2 separate regions of the Homo sapiens genome follow, and region 2 is linked to region 1. The links are contacts of gene promoters, found by promoter capture Hi-C in blood cells and fetal thymus (Javierre and others, 2016). All regions are on one chromosome and are shown on one strand. The core of a region is centred on a gene start or on the middle of the fragment in contact, and the rest is flanking DNA. Distances in the headings are between cores, read along the strand shown.

The links. Contacts are between HindIII fragments. The CHiCAGO score rates a contact against its expected background, and 5 or more counts as called.
Region 2: a contact is called between a fragment that was not itself captured here and the fragment with the promoter of C11orf58 in region 1, in 4 of 17 cell types (non-activated CD4 T cells, total CD8 T cells, fetal thymus and 1 more). The highest score is 10.7, in non-activated CD4 T cells.

What each region holds. Positions count from the first base shown.
Region 1 is chr11:16,735,916-16,740,594 of GRCh38, reverse strand. C11orf58 (chromosome 11 open reading frame 58) reads right to left here and starts at 1,948. Exons shown (of 5, transcript NM_014267.6): 1 at 1,754-1,948. The coding sequence starts at 1,816. It also overlaps a transcript of SOX6 not described here. RefSeq lists an enhancer at 1,445-2,074. The HindIII fragment of the contact is 4,072 bases long and covers 1-3,039 here.
Region 2 is chr11:19,119,762-19,124,019 of GRCh38, reverse strand. All of the region lies in intron 1 of ZDHHC13 (zDHHC palmitoyltransferase 13), which reads right to left. Among named protein-coding and RNA genes, the nearest start is that of ZDHHC13, 4.7 kb to the right of the region's middle. The HindIII fragment of the contact is 902 bases long and covers 1,438-2,339 here.

The sequences.
Region 1 (4,679 bases), core at 699-3,198:
CAAAAAATTAGTCGGGTGTAATGGTGCACACCTGTAGTCCGAGCTACTGTAGTGGTGGTGGGGGAAGAGGGGGTTGAAGCAGGAGGATCACCTGAGCCAGGGAGGTGGAGGCTGCAGGGAGCACTGATCGATCGTGCCACTGCACTCCAGCCTGGGCGACAGAGACCCTGTCTCACCTGTCTCAAAACAAAAACAAAACCCAGGTACTTAAAGATACGCTTATATGATTGGGAAAGGTCTTCAAGGTCGTCTAGTTTAAACCGACCTCTTCCGAAGCTGTAAACTTAATGACTTAATCCCTTTAACTTTGTTAAATTTCATATCACCTGGAGTTTTCTGTCACGCTAAAAGATATTTCCAAACAGGTGTCTGATATCCTAGCAATCAAGTCACATTTAAAGATCAGGAGGAAAACAATGTAACAGCTTTTTAAGTGGCAGCCAGGTTACTCAAAAGTGTGGATCAATTCCTGACAAAACCTGAATTACCATATTAACAAGATCTAAAATCCAGTAGCAGAAATAACAGAGAGCAAGAATAAACTTCTCTAGGTGCCCATTCATCCCCAAATCTTTACTGATTGCTAATCTTTCTGCAGAGCTGAAGTCGATTCCTTTAAAGATCCTTAATATTCCGGTCCTCGCCCCACCTCCCATCAGAGGGGTAGGTCTTAACATTATCTCATTTGCTACAAAGTAGTATTCAGTGGGCTTTTAAAATTTTATGAAGAGCGTTGAAATGCACTATCGAAAAATTTAAAGCTCTATGTATTCAGAAATTGACAGTACTTTAAACAAAACCGAAAAAAAACCTAGATATCCCTTCATCTTCCTTAAAGATGACCTCTCCGCGCTCTCTCCAACAATTTTCCCCATCAACGTTGCCAAGACACTTATCCATTGTATGAAGGACCTAGTTTTACGTTTACTGGTTACCTACCGTTTCCATGACACTGGGCTAGGAGCTAGGACAAATATACAAAAAGGCCTAAAATAAGCATCATATTTCTCTCCGAATTCCCAACACCCGGCAGTGCAGTAAATATTTAACGGGTTACTTTAAGGGATAAACCGTTTGCTATTAAAACCTATGAGGTGAGGGCTGAGGAAGGGAACGGCATTTGATGGGGAGACGAGGTAAGAAGAACGAGGTATTAATATCCGACATCAAAATGGGCTTCTAGGTCTCAACGTCTTAGACCTCACCACCAGAGCCAGTACCAAATTACACCCGTGGCACAATTTTCGGCTCAATACTGTTCTCGGTTTACCCTTACTAGTGCAGCTAAAGTTAACTCTCAACAGCACATTGTAAAAATCATCCAGGCAGGAAAAATCTGTACAAACGTGCACGAACATTTCGACATTGTCACGGGAACATTTAGAACCCAAAACAGGGAGAGTCTTGCCGTCTCTATACTGAGTACAAAGGCCCGAGAAAGCACTCTCATCGGCCCCCCAAAACGCACGTACGAAATCCCTTGACTAAGCTCTTTCACTCCTCGACCCTCTCAGAATTTCCTTCCTCAATCCCCCTTCCTACGCAGGTCTCCGGCTCTCAGCGTGTGGGCCTCTTCAAACCTTCTGACCCTCATAAAGATTAAGGGAGGCATTTCCCACTCATTCTTCTGGTTTCTTCCCTGGGCTCTCCCGCTGCAGGCCACCTCAGGCGCGTCCTCCTCCAACCACCCTTCCCGGCCTACTCCAGGCTTTAGTAGGCCTCAACCCTCAGCCACTCCGCCATTATTATTTACATCGTCGTCTGGGGAGGCTGAACGCTTCACCCCATGCGGGTGAGACTCTCTGGCAGCACTCATCCTTGCGGGGATCCCGACGAAAAATGCCGAACCCTCTCGCCGCTCTTCCCAGCCGCAAAACCAGCAGCTTACAATCCGCCAAGGGCCCAAGCAGCGCCACTACAGAACGCAGAGCCCCTCCGGGCCTTCTCTGCCACAGTCGTCACCGTTGCGGCCCCTCGCCGCCCCGGGGCACTTTGGGAGTTGTAGTTTTCTGATTCATTGCATACTGGCCCGAATAAAAAAGATGTGTCCGTGACTAAAACTACAATTCCCAGGAAGCCCCGAGGCTCAATTCGCGCTGTGTGGCGGGAGTGCCCTCAGAGGCCCCGCCTTCGGCTGGTGGAGGAAGCGTTCCCGCGGATGTGTATGGCGGTGAGCGTTGGCCGAGAGCTTTGTCGCCACAGGAGGAGGCTTAGAGGGGTTTTTGCCTTTCACCGTGCAACGCTGCCCTACTGGCAAATGTATCATCGTAGCTAGGCACCTATGTTTAAATGTAATGTTTGAGGCTGACTGAATCCTCACGAATACCCTCCACCCAGGACAAAAACCTTAACCAAAAATGGCTTCTACCATTTCCACCCTGGTGTTCTCTATTGCGCGCAGGGGATTTCTAGGTGGTCGGTGATGCTGCTTTCTAAATGTTTTCATGAATATTTCGCTGTTTTCCCATACAGAAATGAGTTCAGTATGTTGTTAAATGTTGGCTAATTGGCGGTTGTTGAAAACGGGGATTTAGCTGAGGGAAATCTGTTAAGTTTTCATATGGCTTTGTGTGAGGTGGGAGTGCTCCTCACTGACCTCGCTGTGGATGTCTGGGCACCGTTACAGTAGGGGCCTTCACCAAGCAAAGTCCATCCCTGCCACAAAAGCCTCTATTTTTTTTCTTTTTTAAAAAAAGTAATTATTGAGGTTAAATTCACATATAAAATTAACCATTTTTTAAAAAGTGTACAATCCACTGTCACTTAGTACATTCACAATCGTGTGCAGCTGTCACCTCTGATTCCAAGAAGTTTCACCACTCCAAAAGGAACCCCAATGCCCGTTAGCAATCCCTCCCCATTTCTCGCCCTCTCTCCAGATTCAAGTGATCACTCCTCTACTCAAAAAGCCCTGCATTTAAAGCTATTTATTGTTCAGATACTGAAGACTATCTCCTACTTTATTAAGGTGTCTGAATTTGTAACCAGGTCTGAACTTAACTTTCTGTCAGAATCCTTGTCCTTAATAATTCTGAAGCTTTCTCACCTTGAATACAAATGTGATTTTTTTTTTTTTTAAGCAAAAATTAGGCCTGGCGCCATGGCTCAGGCCTGTAATCCCCAGCATTTTGGGAGGCTGAGGCGGGTGGATCACGAGGTCAGGAGTTCGAGACCAGCCTGATCAACATGGTGAAACCACGTCTCTACTAAAAATACAAAAATTAGCCTGGCATGATGGCACATGCCTCTAATCCCAGCTACTCGGGAGGCTGAGGCAGGAGAATCGCTTGAACCCGGGAGGCGGAGGTTTCAGCGACCCAAGATGGCGCCACTGCACTCCAGCCTGGGTGACAGAACGAGACTCGGTCTCTAAATAAATAAATAAATAAATAATAAGTGGTATGGATAATACATATCTGCTGTTTCAGAACTGAGAGCAGTCTGTGAAACAATGCTTAGCTATTAGCTTTTGAACTCAGCAATTGCTCTAGTTTCACTGCCTGTGTACAAATATTACTTACCTAGATTTCAGATCCTCACTGAACTGTGACCAGTGGAAGGTAGTTTTTAAATTTATGCAGTCATAGATTCAAATTCTCCCTTATTTTGGAAGCAGAAAAATAGCATAATAGTAAGTACTATAATAGAAAAAGAGATGTCAGGGTTACATTTTATAAGTATAACCAAACAAAGAACATCTTAATGGTTCTGTGGTAAGAATAAATCATAAAGGAGGAGGAGAGTAAACCCAAGAGAAAAAAAAGAAACATTGTTTTAGGAAGTGGTTGATTGCTTTTTGCTAGAATTAAAATATTTTCACTACTACATAATTCTACTTAGGTTCTATTAGTTACAATGAAATTACATTTAAGTTACAGAGTTTTGCAGTTTCGACTACAGTTCACCTCTAATGGGTTTGACAAATGGTGATTTAGAACTATTAGCTATATTACCAAAACAAATAAGATGGCTGAATAGGTACTTTAGACTGCTAAAAGATTTCTGAAATAAGAAAGGATTGTCAATAAGAATAGTAGTTACTATATAATTTTAATTTTACTAGTTGGTGAAAGTCCAGAAAACTTTAATGAGCTAGCAACATGTCTTTTATTTCTTCACCAGAATTGTTGGCACCTGGATGGTAAATCTTCAAGTTACTGTGAAACAAGATCACAAACGAAAAAGTAACATAGGAAATACTAAAGACTGGGACATTTTATCAGATTTTACTCAGTTTCATATACAGAAGGCTATAGGTAAGGATGAAATTATACAGTGTAATAGAATGCATATATGCCACAGAAACTCAGTAATGCTCCTCTTTCTTGTATTGTAAAAACAAAGATACACTATCATGAGTGAAACAATGAAATACCTCCTTCAGAATTGGGACTGTTGCATCTGCATTTTTGTTTCTGGCGCAATGCCTGCCACACGGTAGTTAATAAATGTTTCTGAATTAATATAGGAAGGATGAAATTATATAGTACCAGAGTGGTATCTTATATGAGGCCTAGAAACTCAGCAATGTTCTTCTTTCTTGGGTAGTAAAGACAAGGAGAGGAGGCCCTGTCACTGAGAACTTTACATTTTTTTAAATTTTCCCAACATTTAGCATGTAGTGGGCAGTCACAGATGTTTGTCGAGTACGTGCTCTCAACCAGGGATAGTCATGATTG
Region 2 (4,258 bases), core at 639-3,138, 2.4 Mb before region 1:
GAGTCAAAAAACGTGCATTTTAAACATAAATAGATTCTGACCAAATACTCTCCCCAATTCACAGTCCCAATAGCAAAGTATATACGTGTTCTTTCTCCCTACAAACCTTCCCAGAACTGAATATTATCAATCTTTTTACAACCTTGACACTTTGATGGCTAAAAATGGCATCCTATCTTTCACCTGTACTCCCCTAGTTGCTAATGAGTCTGAGTGTTTTGTTTGTTGTTGTTGTTGTTGTTAGGTATACTGGCTCTCCATATTTTCTCTTTTGTGGATTGCCTTTTCATAGTCTACTTGTTTTTCTAATGAATTGCACATATCTGTTTCTCTTTGTAGGTTAGAAAGATTAAGCCTTTTTTGTTTTGTTTTTGAGATGGGGTATTACTCCGTCACCCAGGCTGGAGTGCAGTGGCACCATCAAATCTCACTACAGCCCTATCTGCTGGGCTCAAGTGATTCTACCACCTGACCCACCGTAGTAGGTAGGACTATAAGCAAGCACTACCACACCCTGCTGATTTTTTTATTCTTCTGTAGATAGGTCTCGTTATGTTGCCCAGACTGGTCTCGTTATGTTGCCCAGACTGGTCTTAAACTCCTGACCTCAAGTTATCCTTCCGTCTTGGCCTCCCAAAGCACTAGGGTTACAGGCATGAGCCACCACACCCCACCCTGACCCTTTGTTTATACACAGATTTTTCATCACAGAAAACTGACTCATTCTAGATACAAATTTGTTGCTTCTTATACTATTTTAAGGCATTAAGGACATCAGCTTTATTTTTCATGTATAAAGTTGAGGAGGTTTACATGTTTTAATGTGAAGAATATCCACAATTGAGAATATTTGTTTAGTCGGCAATTAATTACTGTGTATTTATGATGTACAATTACGCTAAGGGCATATAAGACATGGGTGTCTATCCTCCAGGAATTTAAGTCTAATAAGGGAGATATGTCAGAGACAGAGTGAAATAATAATAGCAGGCAATATGTGATTATATATGATTAAATGGCAACTTTAAGAAACTAGAAAACAGAAGATATCTTCCGTTCATGTCATCATTGTTTACCCGCATGCAGATCAAAGTAAAACCTAAAAATGACTATATTCAAAGCTTGTGTTTGAAGTCAATCATCTACAAAGTGAGGAAAGTACACTCAAAGCCATATATGCAGTGACCCACTAGGTAATGTGAGAAAATGTTAAAGCTTCTATTATAATAATTTTTTATCTTTTTACTTAAAAAGGAAAAATAAAATTTACAAATTTGAGTTTTTAAAGCTTTACCAAATTTATTTTTTCTTTTTAGCACACCTCTGCTGGCAGGAAAGCTTTACTAATTTTTAACGATGGCAGTCTCATTTATTGATATGCCAAGCAGGTCACTCCTTATACTCTGTTTACAAGGTAACCTAAGGGCAGAGAAAGCTTCCACAAACAGAGAGTTGACAGTAGGACCTTCAGCATTTTACAATATATATTAGATTATTTTCAAATTATATTGTTAAATTTTAACTAAATTACCTCTCCCAAAATGAGCAAGTAGCTTAAGCTGATTTCTACAAAGAAGCCATGAATTGAGGTAATAATAATAATAATAATAAGCACAAGCAAATAAGAAAATAGCAGATCAGGAACTCTTTATCAGACACATGAAGTATAAACAAAGATGATCTAATCCAATCTGACAAGTCAGTACCCCCTTGGAAAAAATTCAAAATTGTCAAGAGGCTAAATTGAGGCAGATTTATAACCACCATCTTTAATTCAAATCTTGCCATGAACATATACTGAGCTATTAGTTAATGAATATAATTTAGAAATACATGTCAAATCCTACAATAACATGACCCACGACAATATGAAATTGGCCGCCAGCTCCTATCCCCATGTTCAAACAGAAGAGAGCTGAAATTTTTATTTTCTGTGAAGTTTTCTGTGAAGCAAGGTCAGGAAAAGGAGGGCAAGGACACAACAGAGAAGAAGACAGGTAACCTTGAGTCTCAAAAGATAGGGAAGAAGACACATTGAGTCCCTGCTTCCACAGTATTCTCTCAGCCTAATCTCTCCTGATTGCACTGATGACACGGGCCAAATAACCAAATTCCTGGTACTGCCACATTGACTGTATGATAGTGGTGAATCATCTACTCTATTTTTGGCTCATTTCTACGTTGGTAAAGTGAAAGGGACATATCAATACACCCATAAAGCTCCTTCTAAGTCTCATGTTGCATGGTCCTAAGGTGAGCTATTACAATAGTCACTATTGACTTGTGAACTGGTAAAGAATTTACTGTATGAACAAACACACTACATGGATAAAGAAGCTTAACTGCTACATGGCTGCCTACAATGTTAAGGTAACAGAACAGACTAAGCAAATTCTCATGATGCCAGCCAACTCCCAAGAGTTTTCATCAATTATTCATTCAGGGAAATATAAAGAACACCTATACAAATCACAGAAGTAGGTAATCAGGGATAAAAGATGAATAAGACACAGTTCCTTCCATAATACATTCATTCTAGACATTTACTGAATGCCTACTACGTGCTGGGCACTATTGTAGACACAGCAACATGGCAATGAACAACAGACAAGGTCCTTGGTTTTCAAGGAACTTATATTCTAGTTAGGGATATACTCCCTTCCCCATTTTCAGAGCAGAGTAAAATACAGACTACTCCTCAGACCTTGACCTAAAGAATGGGTGGACTCCAAGTGGCAGCAAACAATCAAACAAGATCGTATCATGACTGGACCACCTGACTAGCAATGAAAATGCACTGCATCAGGAGCCCTGACACCTGGGCTCTGCTAACTTGCCATGAACCTTTGGAAAGTAAGTTATTATTTTTGCGTCTTGAATTCATGGGAAAAGTTAAAGGGCTAGACTAGATAAATGGTTCTCAAACCTTCCAAATGTCATGGACCTTTTTGAAAATGTTACCAAAATTAAGGCCTCTCTACTTAAGAGAAATGCACAACTGCACATGTAAACTAACTTTTCAAGATGTTCACTAATTTCAAGATGTTCACTAACGCCCTGAAGCTTATCCTATATGCCAGTTTAAGAATCTCTCAACTAGGTAATTCACTGAAAAGCCTTCCAGCTCCAAGTATTCTATGATTCTATTCCATTTTACTTCCTCTCGTCTTCCTAGGATTCCAGTCTACAACCACCTCAAGATACTAGAATAAAATGGTTTTTTTGTTGTTTTTGTTTTAATTAAGATACAAAGGGAAAAAAAATTTAAAGAGGGAAAAAAGAGAGATACCAAGAAAGAAATATGTAGCTAGCTCACTGTCCTCCACAGAAGAGTGAAAAGCAGAACAAGATATTATGAAAATTATCTAACAGACATATGAATACATGTGTGGTAATTTTTACAACATAGCCTCAAAATTATTTGCTACTTCTCCATCAAGAGGTAAAGGTCTATGTCCCTTCCTCTTGACTCTGAGCTTTGTGACTACCTCACAAATAATATATTTCAGAAGTGATGCTGTGCCAGTTTGCAGGCTCAGGCCCTAGAAACTGGCAGCTTCTTCTTCCTGGCTCTTTCATTAGATGGTCACTAATGGAACTCAGCCACTATACTGTGCAGAGGCCCAGGTCACGTGTAGGTGTCTCTACTGAAAGTTAACTGCCAGATGTAAGTGAAGACACTCATAGATACTGGCCCCAGCTCTCAATTCATCTCCAGCTTATGAGTCTTTGCAGCTGAGGCTCTAGACATGGTGGAACAGAAACAAACCAACCCTGCTGCAGTCTCTCCAAGTCCCTGACACACAGAGTCCATGAGCATGACAAAGCCATGTTTTATACCACTATGTTTTGAGGTGGTTTCTTACACAATAAATAACTAGGGCATCTTTAAGCTCTGAGGGATCATGTAATACTTCTCACACAGAGATGTCATGAATGAGATTATTTTTCTAAATTGTATATAAGAATTGTTAAAGTTACAGTGGGCATTAATTTAAGCCAAAATCAAGATTTAGAAAACCACACTTAAACTCCAATGACAGGCATTATCCTGCCAGATTATCGAATAAAAAGAGAGTGAGAGAGAAGGAGCGAGTGAGAGAGAAATATGTGACACTCATTAAAAGTTCTCATGTCATTAAAGTTCTCATTAACAGAAGTACCAGAGTTTAGTTTCCAAGTTCATTCATTGACAAGTATTTACAGAGTACTCACCAGTGCTAGGCATTGTTCCAGATGCCAGGCACACAGCAGTGAA